Linked DNA regions of Homo sapiens: regions 2, 3 and 4 are each linked to region 1. The links are contacts of gene promoters, found by promoter capture Hi-C in human tissues and cell types (Jung and others, 2019). All regions are on one chromosome and are shown on one strand. The core of a region is centred on a gene start or on the middle of the fragment in contact, and the rest is flanking DNA. Distances in the headings are between cores, read along the strand shown. Region 1 holds the start of YLPM1 (YLP motif containing 1). Region 2 holds the start of ZNF410 (zinc finger protein 410). Region 3 overlaps JDP2 (Jun dimerization protein 2). Region 4 overlaps ENTPD5 (ectonucleoside triphosphate diphosphohydrolase 5 (inactive)).

Region 1 (2,700 bases), core at 83-2,582:
TAAGAGGATGGTCAAAGAAACCAAGGAATGTATCTGAGAGGTAACTTTTGAGCCACCCCACCACTGTATGTAATCCATACACATCTACAAACGCTGTTTTTTTGGTAATTCACATCTAGCTAATTAAAAAGCTGAGCTGTCAGCCCTCTGACTCTTACGGAATCCTTTGGAGTGTTAGCTAGTCATTGTGTGTTGGAATTAGACTAACCACTGGTTAAAGCCCTGAGGCCTGCTCATTCAGGGCCCTCTAGGTGAAAGATGAGGTTCAGGCAGATGCTTTCTTACCTGTGGAGTCATCGTAGAGGGATCTGGCTCAGGGGCGGCTTGCTGCTGTTCAGTACTCTTGTTTTTGGCCCCACTCTCCAAAGGCTCTTGCTGGACAGTTGTCTTATTTCCAGGGGGGGCGGACGGTGGTGGTGGAGCTAGTAGTTGGGATTTAGAATGGCCCTGGGAGGGGCGGGAAGGAGATGCCTGAGAAGAGGGCAAGTAGGACTGGGAATGGCTCAAATAGGATTGCGAGGAAGAGGAGGAGGATGAGTAAGAAGGGGTGGGCGCCAGGTAGGATTGGGAAGGTGGGGACTGCGAAGGGGACGGCTGAGCAGGAGGCAGGTAGGGCTGAGATGAGGTCGGGGGGTAGTAAGAGGGTGGCGGCTGAGGTGGGGGCATGTAAGACTGAGATGGGGGCATATAGGACCCAGGCGGCACAGGGGGAGATTCAGGGGGGGATTCCAGCTCCATTGGAACCAAACCAGGAGGCCCGTCTCGTTGGTGGTGGAGCATCTGGTGTTTGTACTGCTGCTGCTTCTGATAGCTGAGGGCCGGCCCGGGTGGCGGGGGCATCGGTGGCGGTGGCGGCTGCCAGTCTCCGTAGCCGCCCCCCGGCATCACTGGCGGGGGCGGCAGAGGGGGCGGAGGAAGGTGGTGGGGCTGAAGCACGCACTGCATTTGCTTCTGGTGCATCTGCTGCAGCTGCTGGAGCTGCGCCAAGTGCTGTTCGCGGAAGCTCATGAAGCCCGAGGAGGAGGGGGCCGCGGGAGTCGTCGAGCTCGAGTACCCGGGCCCCGGCGAGGCCTCAGGAAGCGCCACTGGCGGCGGCGGTGGGACCGGTGGCGGCGGATAGTGGCTGCTCCCGCCATACCGGCCCCAATTCGGGTACATATCGAAAAAGAAGGCGCAGGGCTCGTCCTGGCGCCGTTACTCGTCGCAACCGACCTCCAGGAGCCGCGGCGGCGACGGCGACAGCCGGAACTCGCGGCGCCTACAGGCCCCGGAGCGTGTAAACGGAGCGCGCCAGTGCGCCGGCGCTCCCGAGCTGGGCCCGCGACCGGGAAGGCGGGGACGCGACTTGGGCGACTACGTCTGCGCAGTAACCACCGAGAGGAGAACAAAGGCGAGATAGAGCGGTCCTTTACTTGGCGACTCGTGGTTGCCATCTTCCTTTGGGTTCAGATAATGTAGGCTCCAGTAGAATGTTCTCATAGAACTGAAAAACCATAGAGTCTCACAGCCGAAAGAGGTGGTAGAGATCCTATCGCTCCACGGGTTCATTTTTGAATGAAAAAAAAAAAAGGTTCCATTCACAATAGCAACAATCGCAACAACAACAAAAAAACATAAAGCAACTAGGAAAAACTCTAACAAGAAAGATGTAGGACTTATATGTAGAAAGCTACAGAGTCATAAAGAAGCATATCCAAGTAGGATGAAATTAGACTTCAAATAATGGAGAGGCTTACCATGATCCTGGGTGAAAAGAGGAAAAATTGTAAAGATGTCAGTTTCTCCCAAATTAAATGAATAGACCTAACTCAATTCTCCCCAGAAATTCAACTGGGAACAAAGCTGTGAAGAATGGAAAGGTGTTTTCAAGGCAGAGTGTAAGATTACACCAATTCCTGCAGACATATAGTGAGTAACATCTGCAGGAATTGTAGAAGGGGAGAAATGGAATTTTTTAGACTGTCTCAACACATATAAATCGGTGTTGCAGAATCTCAGAGCAAAAGCAAAGAGAGCAAAAACCAGATACAAAGATGGTCTAAAGACAACCTGGAAGATAATCTTCCAAAAGCTCTCAACGTAATACCAGACATAAACTCTTACTTTAGCTTGAGTGAATCACTAAAAAGCAAAGCTAATACACTGAATTCTTTTGGGTGTGTGGGGGGGGGCGGGGGGAGGGAGAACTGTGAGAATATTGTGTCAGTGCATCACTTGAGTAACATGCAAATAATTGACCTTTCTTCCATCTTAGCAACCCAGATCTTCACCTCTCTCAGGAGGTGAATGTGAATGGAAAGTGGAGCAGCAAGGCATCCTTCAAAAGGAAGAGCTTCTGTTTTCAAATAGAAATTTAGTTATGTTTCTTTTAACTTTTTATTGAAGTATAACGAATATACAGAAAATTACATGTCAAAAGACAAAATTACAACAAATTTAGTTTAAAGATCTTAATTAACTTTTACCTGCTATTCTAGAATTGGGCAACGTCTCATTCTATAAAGCAGAAACAGTGTTCCAATGAGCAGAACAATCGGGATAATTTCATAGACAGAAAAGAAACGCAGAGGCAGGGCGCGGGGGCTCACTCCTGTAATCCCAACACTTTTGGGAGGCTGAGGCAGGCAGATCACCAGGTCAGGAGATCAAGACCAGCCTGGTCAACATGGTGAAACCCCATGCCTACTAAAAATACAAAAA
Region 2 (2,700 bases), core at 87-2,586, 880 kb after region 1:
CAATCTTCCTCCCACTCAGCTGCAAATTCTAGGTCTTTAAATCTCTCTCATTCTCCATTTTTAAATAATTCCCGTGATTCTCTGTTCCCAGAATGTTCTCTGTTCCCTACTGTAATGCCCTGTTTAGGTCTCTCAGTAACTTTCTACTATACTATTAAAACAGGCCTCTAACTGGTCACCCCGCGTTTAAAATTCCTCTTTCCAATACATCCTTTATGCAGCCATTCAAGTTATCTTTCCAAAACAAAGAAATGCTTATGTCACTTCTACTCAAAGTTCAGTGCCTCGGAAAAATTGTCATAGCCCTAAAGGTAAACCCCTTCGTTTACAGAAAAACTCCCCAGAGCTAGAGATTCAGCAACTTGCCAAAAATTAGACATCTACTTAGATGCAAAACGTAAAAAACTAGAACTTAAAACTTCTGACTGCTACTTTAGTTGTCTTTTACTCTGCACCACACTAAGAAAAAACCAAGTGCAATTTCTCACTCCCTAACAAAATGCCCGACTTTATTTCCAAATGTTTTTTATTTATTGCAAATATGCTGCGTTGACCTTCGTTCCAACCTAAGTACTAATTCTTAAGTCCCAAGTTAATAATATTTAACTTCCAAATGGTGCCTAAATGCATTTCTGAGCCTCATGATCAAGTGGGATAAACTTTAATAAATTGGATTATCTTGAGAAACTTCAGAAAATAAATTCGACACGAAATGTATGAAGGCCGTAAACAATCCACACACTCCTGCCCCCCGAACTGACAGGCAAAGGAGAAACGGGCGACCCAGCCCAGCCGAGTAGGCAGCTGTCCCTTTTCCAAACCCAGAAAGTAAGTGGTATGAAAGGAGAGGGTAGCTCTGGACTGAAACATTCAGGGCAAGGCCTCCTGGCATCCTCTACCCCACACCACAAAGGCCTCAGAAATAAGGCCCCAAGGTCCGTAGGCAGGCCCCGGCTGCGGGTGCAGTCCAAGAGCCCCCGCCCCGGGGACTCGCTGACTCTGGCTTTCTCAGGACAGTCTGTTCCTATATCCCTACCCCCAAAACCAAGCAAAGGAGCAAGAACATCGCCCCTAAAAACCCGCGAGGGGAAGGGCCAAAGCCGCAGGGCTTCAGACTGGCCGCTCCCGGGCCCGCCAGATCCAGGAGGGATGCCCAAGGAGGGCGGTTTCCTCTCTCGGGGCGAACTCGGCCCCAGGCCCCAAGTAGCCGGTACTGGCCCCCGCCCTCTCGGGTACTACCTAACCGAGGAGGGGTGGCCAGGCCCACCTCGGAGCTCACCTTCCAGTTCCGGGAAGCCGGCCGGCCGTCAGTCGGTCCCGAATTCCGTCCACACACAGCGTCTTCCGGCTCCCGCCGGAAGCAGCTCGAGCGCGGGACAGGAAGTTTGGCTGACCCCCCACGCACACACCCACTCGCTCGCCTCAGTGTCGTGTGGCTGCCGCACTGCTCGGGACCCAGACGTCAAGGGTGCTGGCGGGGCCTCCCCAGGCCCGCGACGCAGGGCTCCGCCCCGGACAGGAGGAGCCGCAGCCGCCCCGCTCCCACTCACTCACTCACTCTCGGCCTTCGGGACTCCTATGTCCGCGAAGCCCGAAAAAACAGGTCAGCTAATTCGTTGACGTCACTGCCACCCCGCAGTAGCGGAGGGAGTAGTTTTTCCCATCAGCGGAGGCGTTGCAATGGAGGCAAACGCGAAAGAAAAGATCACTGCTTAAACATTTATCAAAGGTCTCCATGGAGAGGACCTTCGAAGTTTCACCGCCCGAGAAAGGAACTTGCAGAATCAAGTTTTGCATTATATACGGGACGGGGTATGCAGTGAGTCTGGGTTCCGTGTTGTAATTAGGATGTAAAGAGCTCTTGGATGTCCCGACTGCGGGCTTGAACACTTGACTTCCAAGCTGGATGCCACCTTGTTAAAGCTTTGTGAGTTTGACTGACTTCTTGAAATTACTTATTTTAAAATATTTGCGTGCGGAAGAATGAGAGACTCAACCGTGGGAATTAAAGGAGTTCTCTTTAAAAAGGCATTTTCAAGGTTAAAGATAAGCCTTGATGACAGGTTTGGGTACACAAATTACTAATGGTGATTTAAAATAAAGGAGAAACATTTCAGAGGAAGATAATTCCACTTTAGAAAAGCAGAGTAGGCCGGACTCCGTGGCTCACGCCTTTAATCCCAGCACTTTGGGAGGCTAAGGTGGGCGGATCACGAGGTCAGGAGATCGAGACCATCCTGGGTAACGCCGTGAAAACCCGTCTCTACTAAAAACACAAAAATTAGCCGGGCGTGGTGGCACGCGCCTGTAATCCTAGCTACTCGGGAGGCTGAGGCAGGAGAATCGCTTGAACCCGGGAGGCGGAGGTTGCAGTGAGCCGAGATCGTGCCGCTGCACGCCGGGCGACTGAGCAAGACTCCATCTCAAAAAAGAAAAGAAAAGAAAAAAGCAGAGTATAAGATGCAATCCAGAGTTGAGGATATTTACTTGGAGGTAAAGGTCCAGTGCTCAAGAAAGAGGTCAGAAATACAGATGGAGATTTGGGAGTTAGCAACATACAGAGAAAAGTGAAACCCCCTCAGGCGATGAAATGGTCCAGGAAAAGTAACAAAAAAGGGCCACTCACGAAAACTGGGGAGGCTGATTACCAACACAGTTTGAATCTACTTATTACAAATGTTGCATACAAAAGTATATTGG
Region 3 (2,700 bases), core at 173-2,672, 670 kb before region 1:
GCAGGACAGTCAGCCAGGTTGGGGGCTCCAGGAGGGCTCAAGTCCCTCGTCTTGCCAGGACTGTGGCTTCTTTCACCAATGTTCCCCTGAATCCCTTTCCCACCCAGCTGCTCTTCCTGCCGTAAAGTCCTTCCTGTTATAGAGGAAAAGTTGCTCAATTAACTCACACCAAGGTCACCCTTGGCACTGCCAGAAGTGTCTGCCTTTTTTATTTTGAAGGCAATGCTTGACCCAATCATAGGCAACATGTATTCAGCCTTTGGTATGTGCCAGGCCCCATGGTAATCCTGCAGTCCCATTAGGCTGGATCAGAGGTCATTACACAGAGGAAGTAGCCAAGCTTAGAATGATAATTCGCTTAAGGTTGTACACAGTTAAAATTGGTGGAGCTGGGATTTCAATGGCAGCATACAGTCTCTGAAGAGAGCGAATTATAACGGCAGAACCTCAAGCACCTTCACACCTGTTTCAGAGGAAGCTATTTTTGGTCTGGCATGGTGCCTCCCCTCCAATCACACATCCTATTCTGCATATTTGTTAAGACACCCTGAGTAGGAGATGAAGCAAATCTAAGTTAAAGGTGAGTGTGTGTGCTATCTATGAGGAAGGGACTGAGGCAAAGCAGGTGGAATTAATTAGCATGTGCTTTCCCTGTGGAACCCAGTACCAGAAAACTCCTCCATGCTTTTTTTTTTTTTTTTTTTTGCCCAGGCTGGAGTGCAGTGGCACGATCTCAGCTCACTGCAACCTCCGCCTCCTGGGTTCAAGCAATTCTCCTGTCTCAGCCTCACGAGTAGCTGGAATTACAGGCACCTGCCACCACGCCCAGCTAATTTTTGTATTTTTAGTAGATACAGGAGTTCATCATGTTAGCCAGGCTGGTGTTGAACTCCTGGCTTCAAATGATCTGCCCACCTTGGCCTCCCAAAGTGCTGGGATTATAGGCGTGAGCCACTGCGCCCGGCTACCTCCATGTTCTCTTCATTCTCAGAGCAAACACATATTCCAGCTCTGCCCAACCAAAAAGGTGTACAAGGGAAGACAGATTCAGACATGGAAGAAGGATGTAAATTAGACAGGTCAACACCAAGGGAATTCTTCCTTCCCTTTACTGGGGGAAGCTCATGGGTAAGAAATGGTCATTTCAAGGCACAGATGGCAGTGAAGAAAGCTGGTCTGCCAATAAAGCCAGTCCCTTAAAGGGCTCCTCCTACCTACCCATCCATCCAGTTACTGACCACCTACTATAGGCCAGCAGGCACTAGGAATATGGAGGTCAGATGTGCAGTCTTAGCTTTGAAGCAGCCTTTTAAGTAGCATGTTAGTACAAAACTGCTCTTAGATTCTAGTCCTGGAAAGGAAATCATTTCTCCCTCTTTTCACCTTTCTGCCCAGGGCCATAAAATCAAAATATTCGCTGGCTTAGCACTCCTGAGGGAAAATCTTTGGCCTATCCTTCCATCTTTACCTGTCTCTTCCCATGGAGAGAGATGTATTTGGCAGAAGAGGGAAGATCTGATGTCCATCGGACAATACTTCTCCGTTGGGCAGTTAATGTACTCAGATGGCCACATGGTTCTTGGGCTCTCTGTCTCCTGCAGGAGTGGCCTTGGAGGGTGACCCACAACCACCTGCCCCCATTCAGCTTCCCAGGTCTAGATCATTCCAGAGAGGGGCATTTGTGAACCTGTTTTGGCCAAGAGTGCAAGCCATATTCTCCATCTACATTTCACTTTTGAAGGTGAAATTTGGTTCCCTGTCCAAGTCCAGAGTCTATTTCCCAATAAGTTCTATTTCTCTAAGAGAAAAAGCATGTGAGTAACTTGCACCCTCAAGCACAAAGGTTTCCACTGGCCATCACTTTGTCTAAAGCAAGGTGTCTAAAGCGAGGTGCCTGGGAATGGGAAGTGGACCCGCCATTTCATCCTCAGCATGCCTGCTGCATCTGTCATAAAGCCTCTGCCCATAGCTCCCTGGCTTGCCCCAGAGTTTTTATTTGGTGTCCTCAGGCTCCTCTAACTGTGCTCTACCTACTGTGCCTCCCATACCCGGTCCTCTTAGCACTCCTTCCCACTCACATCCTTTCTCTCCTTCCTTCACCCCGTGTCCCCTGGGCCATCAGAAAAAGATCTGAGGCTCAATCACATTGAGTTACAGTTTTAGAGCTGAAGGAGGCCCTGTGCTCATCTAAACCACATCCTCATTTTGACAGGAGGAAACTAAAGCTCAGAGAGGCTAAATGGCCTCCCCAAGGTCACACAGCTGGAGAGGATTGGAGCCAGGGCTCGACTCCTGGTCCCAGGGTTCTAGACCAAAGCTTTCTCACCCTTCCTTCTTTGTTTCCCTTTCTGGGGTCCAATAGGTAACGACGCCTTCAGCAGAAGGAATGACTTTCTCACGGTGGGCTTTCAGACACCAGCCCACAGTAGAGGGTCATTGTCTTGCACAGAGGACCCTCCACCCCCCATGGAGATCCAGGTTTAGGAAGTTCCCTGAATAACTCCACGGTAGCCTGCATGGGAGCCCAGACACAGAAATAGCCCCTGAGACCTCTCGCATGTGGGTGTTCAATGTTCTCTGATCCCCCAAACTCTGAGCTGGACTGGAGCCTAGTGGCAGTAAGAGAGCTCCCTCTCAGCCCTCTGGAATGGAACCTGCAATGCAGAGAGGGCTGCAGCCTGCCACGCTAGGAGGCCGCTC
Region 4 (2,700 bases), core at 130-2,629, 760 kb after region 1:
ACTCCTGACCTCAGGTGATCCACTCCCCTCAGCCTCCCGAAGTGCTGGGATTACAGGCGTGAGCCACCGCACCTGGCCAGTTGTTCATTTTTAAGAGTTAATAGCAGCCGATGTGATGGCTCACACCTGTAATCCTAGCATGTTGAGAGGCCAAGGTGGAGGATTGCTTGAGGCCAGGAGTTTGAGAGCAATCTGACAAACATAGTGAAACCCTGCCTATATTTCTTTTCTTTTTTTTTGAGACCGAGTCTTGCTCTCTCACCCAGGCAGGCATGAGCCACCACGCCTGGTTTATTTCTTTTTTTCTTTTTTTCTTTTTTTCTTTTTTTTTTTTTTTTGAGACTGAGTCTCACCCTATCGCCCAGGCTGGAGTGCAATGGTGCGATCTCAGCTCACTGCAACCTCCATCTCCCGGGTTCAAGCAATTCTCCTGCCTCAGCCTCCCGAGTAGCTGGGATTACAGGCATGTCCCATCATGCCCAGCTAACCTGGCTTATTTCTATATATTATTTTTTTCTAAGAATAAACAAATGAACAAAAACAGTTAATATCATTGGAATAACATGCAGGTCCTAAAATAAGAAGTATGTAAGATGTGTTTATTGAAATATATATATGGTATACTGGAAAAAAAACCCCACAAAATATTACACAAATACTGGTTACAGCTTACAGTAGCCAGCCTCCAAGATGCCCCCCAGTGATGCTCACCTCCTAATATTCATGCCTTTGTGTAGTCCCCTTTTACAGTTCGTCAGGGTTGGTCTGTATGAGCATTAGAATATAGGGATATGATAGTGTATGACTTCCAAAACAAAGTCATAAAAGACATTACTGCTTCTGCCCTGCTCTTCTTGGATTGACTGCTCTGGAGGAAGCCAGCCACTGGGTTATAAAGACATTCAAGCAGCCCTATGGAGGATCTACACGGGGAGCTACTGAGACTTCCTGCCCACAGCTGGCATCAACTTGCCAACCATTGAGTGAGCCATCTTGGAGGTGGGTCTTCCAGGCCTAGTCAAGCCTTCAGATTGACTGCAGCCCCAGCCTACATCTTGACTGCAATCTCATGAGAGCCTCAGAGCCAAAACTGTCTAATTAAACCACTCTCAGAGTCCCAAACCACAGAAATAATGAGATAGGCCGGGCGCAATGGCTCACACCTGTAATCTCAGCACTTTGGGAGGCCAACGCAGGTGGATCACCTGAGGTCAGGAGTTTGAGCCTGGCCAATATGGCGAAACCCCGTCTCTACTAGAAATACAAAAATTAGCCGGGTGTGGTGGGGGGTGCCTGTAGTCCCAGCTACTTCGGAGGCTGTGACAGGAGAATCACTTGAACCCAGGAGGCAGAGGTTGCAGTGAGCCAAGATCACGCCACTGCACTGCAACCTGGGCAATAGAGGGAGACTCTGTCTCAAAAAAATAAAAAAGGGATGAGATAATAAATATTTTTATTGCTTAATACATGTATTTATTTACTTAATTAATTTATTTTTTGAGACAGGGTCTTGCTCTGTCACCCATGCTGGAGTGCAGTGGCATGATTCTAGCTCACTGCAGCTTCGAACTCCTGGGCTTAAGTGATCCTTCTGCCTCAGCCTCCCAAGTAGCTGGGACTGCAAGTGTGCACTGCCATGCCTGGCTAATTTTTTCATTAAAAAAAAATTTTTTTTAATAGGGTTTTGCTGTGTTGCCCAGGCTGGTCTCAAACTCCTGGGCTCCAGTGATCCTCCTGCCTTAGCCTCCCAAGTGTTGGGATTTACAGGCATGAGGCACCATGCCCAGCCAATTTTTTTTTTCTTTTTTTCTTTTTCTTTTTTTTTGATTCTTCAGCTAAGACAGCAGAAGAGATGATTTATCGTATGGTTGTTATACTCGGCCACAAGTAAACACAGAAATAGTCCAGAATGTCCCAGGTCCAGGGCAGAGGACCAACATGGGCAGTTTTGGTTATGAGCAAGGTGGGTCTCAGAGGTGATCAGCGATCAGAGGGCGGTGAAGTTCTGGATCCATTGAGACAAGCTCTACACAATAGCATGCAGTCCCACAACTTGTACCAGCATCCCCAGCATCTGGCATTCCATGTTTCTGCTCCTGTGTGGCCTCCACGGTGCAACAAGCTAGCGGTTTACTTGGACCTCTGCCTCATCTTTCTTCTTTTGTGCTTCAGACTGCACATTCGCTTTTTCCTCCACTTAGCTCTCATGATGCAGAGGTTTCCAAGAAAATGGCGCTAAGGCTGAGAGAAACCCTAGCCCATTTCTATTGTCAGTTTTTATTGAATTCCACCTTGGACGCTCTTCTAGGTTCTTGGGTTACACCAGTAAACAAAAAGATTTCTGCTCTTGAGGAGCTTATATTCTATCAGAGGAACACAGACAATAAATATCAGTAAGCTTTCCAGTATGTTAGAATGTGATAAGTGGTGTGGAAAAAAGAAAAGTGGATCAGAGTAAGGGGAGTTGAGAAAGCAGGTAGAGGTGGGAGCATGTGAAGGTGAGAGGTTATAGTATTAAGTAGATCTCAATAAGAAAGTGATTTTTAAACAAGTATTTGAAGGAGTTGCAGGAATTCATCAAGTGGATATATAGGAAAAGAATTTCTAGGCAGTGGGGACAGCTTAGAGCGAAGGCCCTAAGGCAGGGGCATGAGTGAATAAGCGCAGAGGTCAGTGTTGGGGGAGAGTAAGGTGAAAACT

Evidence for each region. The method cuts DNA at HindIII sites, captures the fragments that hold promoters and counts their contacts. A contact is called where the count stands out against the background at its distance.
Region 2: a contact is called between the fragment with the promoter of ZNF410 here and the fragment with the promoter of YLPM1 in region 1, in 2 of the 25 tissues and cell types used here (bladder and mesenchymal stem cells).
Region 3: a fragment that was not itself captured here is called in contact with the fragment with the promoter of YLPM1 in region 1 in 1 of the 25 tissues and cell types used here (lymphoblastoid cells).
Region 4: a contact is called between a fragment that was not itself captured here and the fragment with the promoter of YLPM1 in region 1, in 1 of the 25 tissues and cell types used here (spleen).

What each region holds. Positions count from the first base shown.
Region 1 is chr14:74,761,948-74,764,647 of GRCh38, reverse strand. It overlaps YLPM1 (YLP motif containing 1), which reads right to left and starts at 1,332. Exons shown (of 21, transcript NM_019589.3): 1 at 286-1,332. The coding sequence starts at 1,158. RefSeq lists an enhancer at 1,285-1,624. The HindIII fragment of the contact is 19,465 bases long and covers 1-2,700 here.
Region 2 is chr14:73,885,495-73,888,194 of GRCh38, reverse strand. ZNF410 (zinc finger protein 410) reads right to left here and starts at 1,336. Exons shown (of 12, transcript NM_021188.3): 1 at 1,280-1,336. It overlaps PTGR2 (prostaglandin reductase 2), which reads right to left. Exons shown (of 10, transcript NM_001146154.2): 10 at 2,469-2,700. RefSeq lists an enhancer at 1,277-1,346 and a silencer at 1,397-1,676. The HindIII fragment of the contact is 8,605 bases long and covers 1-2,700 here.
Region 3 is chr14:75,435,178-75,437,877 of GRCh38, reverse strand. All of the region lies in intron 1 of JDP2 (Jun dimerization protein 2), which reads right to left. Among named protein-coding and RNA genes, the nearest start is that of JDP2, 8.5 kb to the right of the region's middle. RefSeq lists an enhancer at 1-435. The HindIII fragment of the contact is 5,565 bases long and covers 1-2,700 here.
Region 4 is chr14:74,002,904-74,005,603 of GRCh38, reverse strand. The region is part of intron 3 of ENTPD5 (ectonucleoside triphosphate diphosphohydrolase 5 (inactive)); the gene reads left to right. It also overlaps the pseudogene RPL41P4. Among named protein-coding and RNA genes, the nearest start is that of ENTPD5, 15 kb to the left of the region's middle. The HindIII fragment of the contact is 8,142 bases long and covers 1-2,700 here.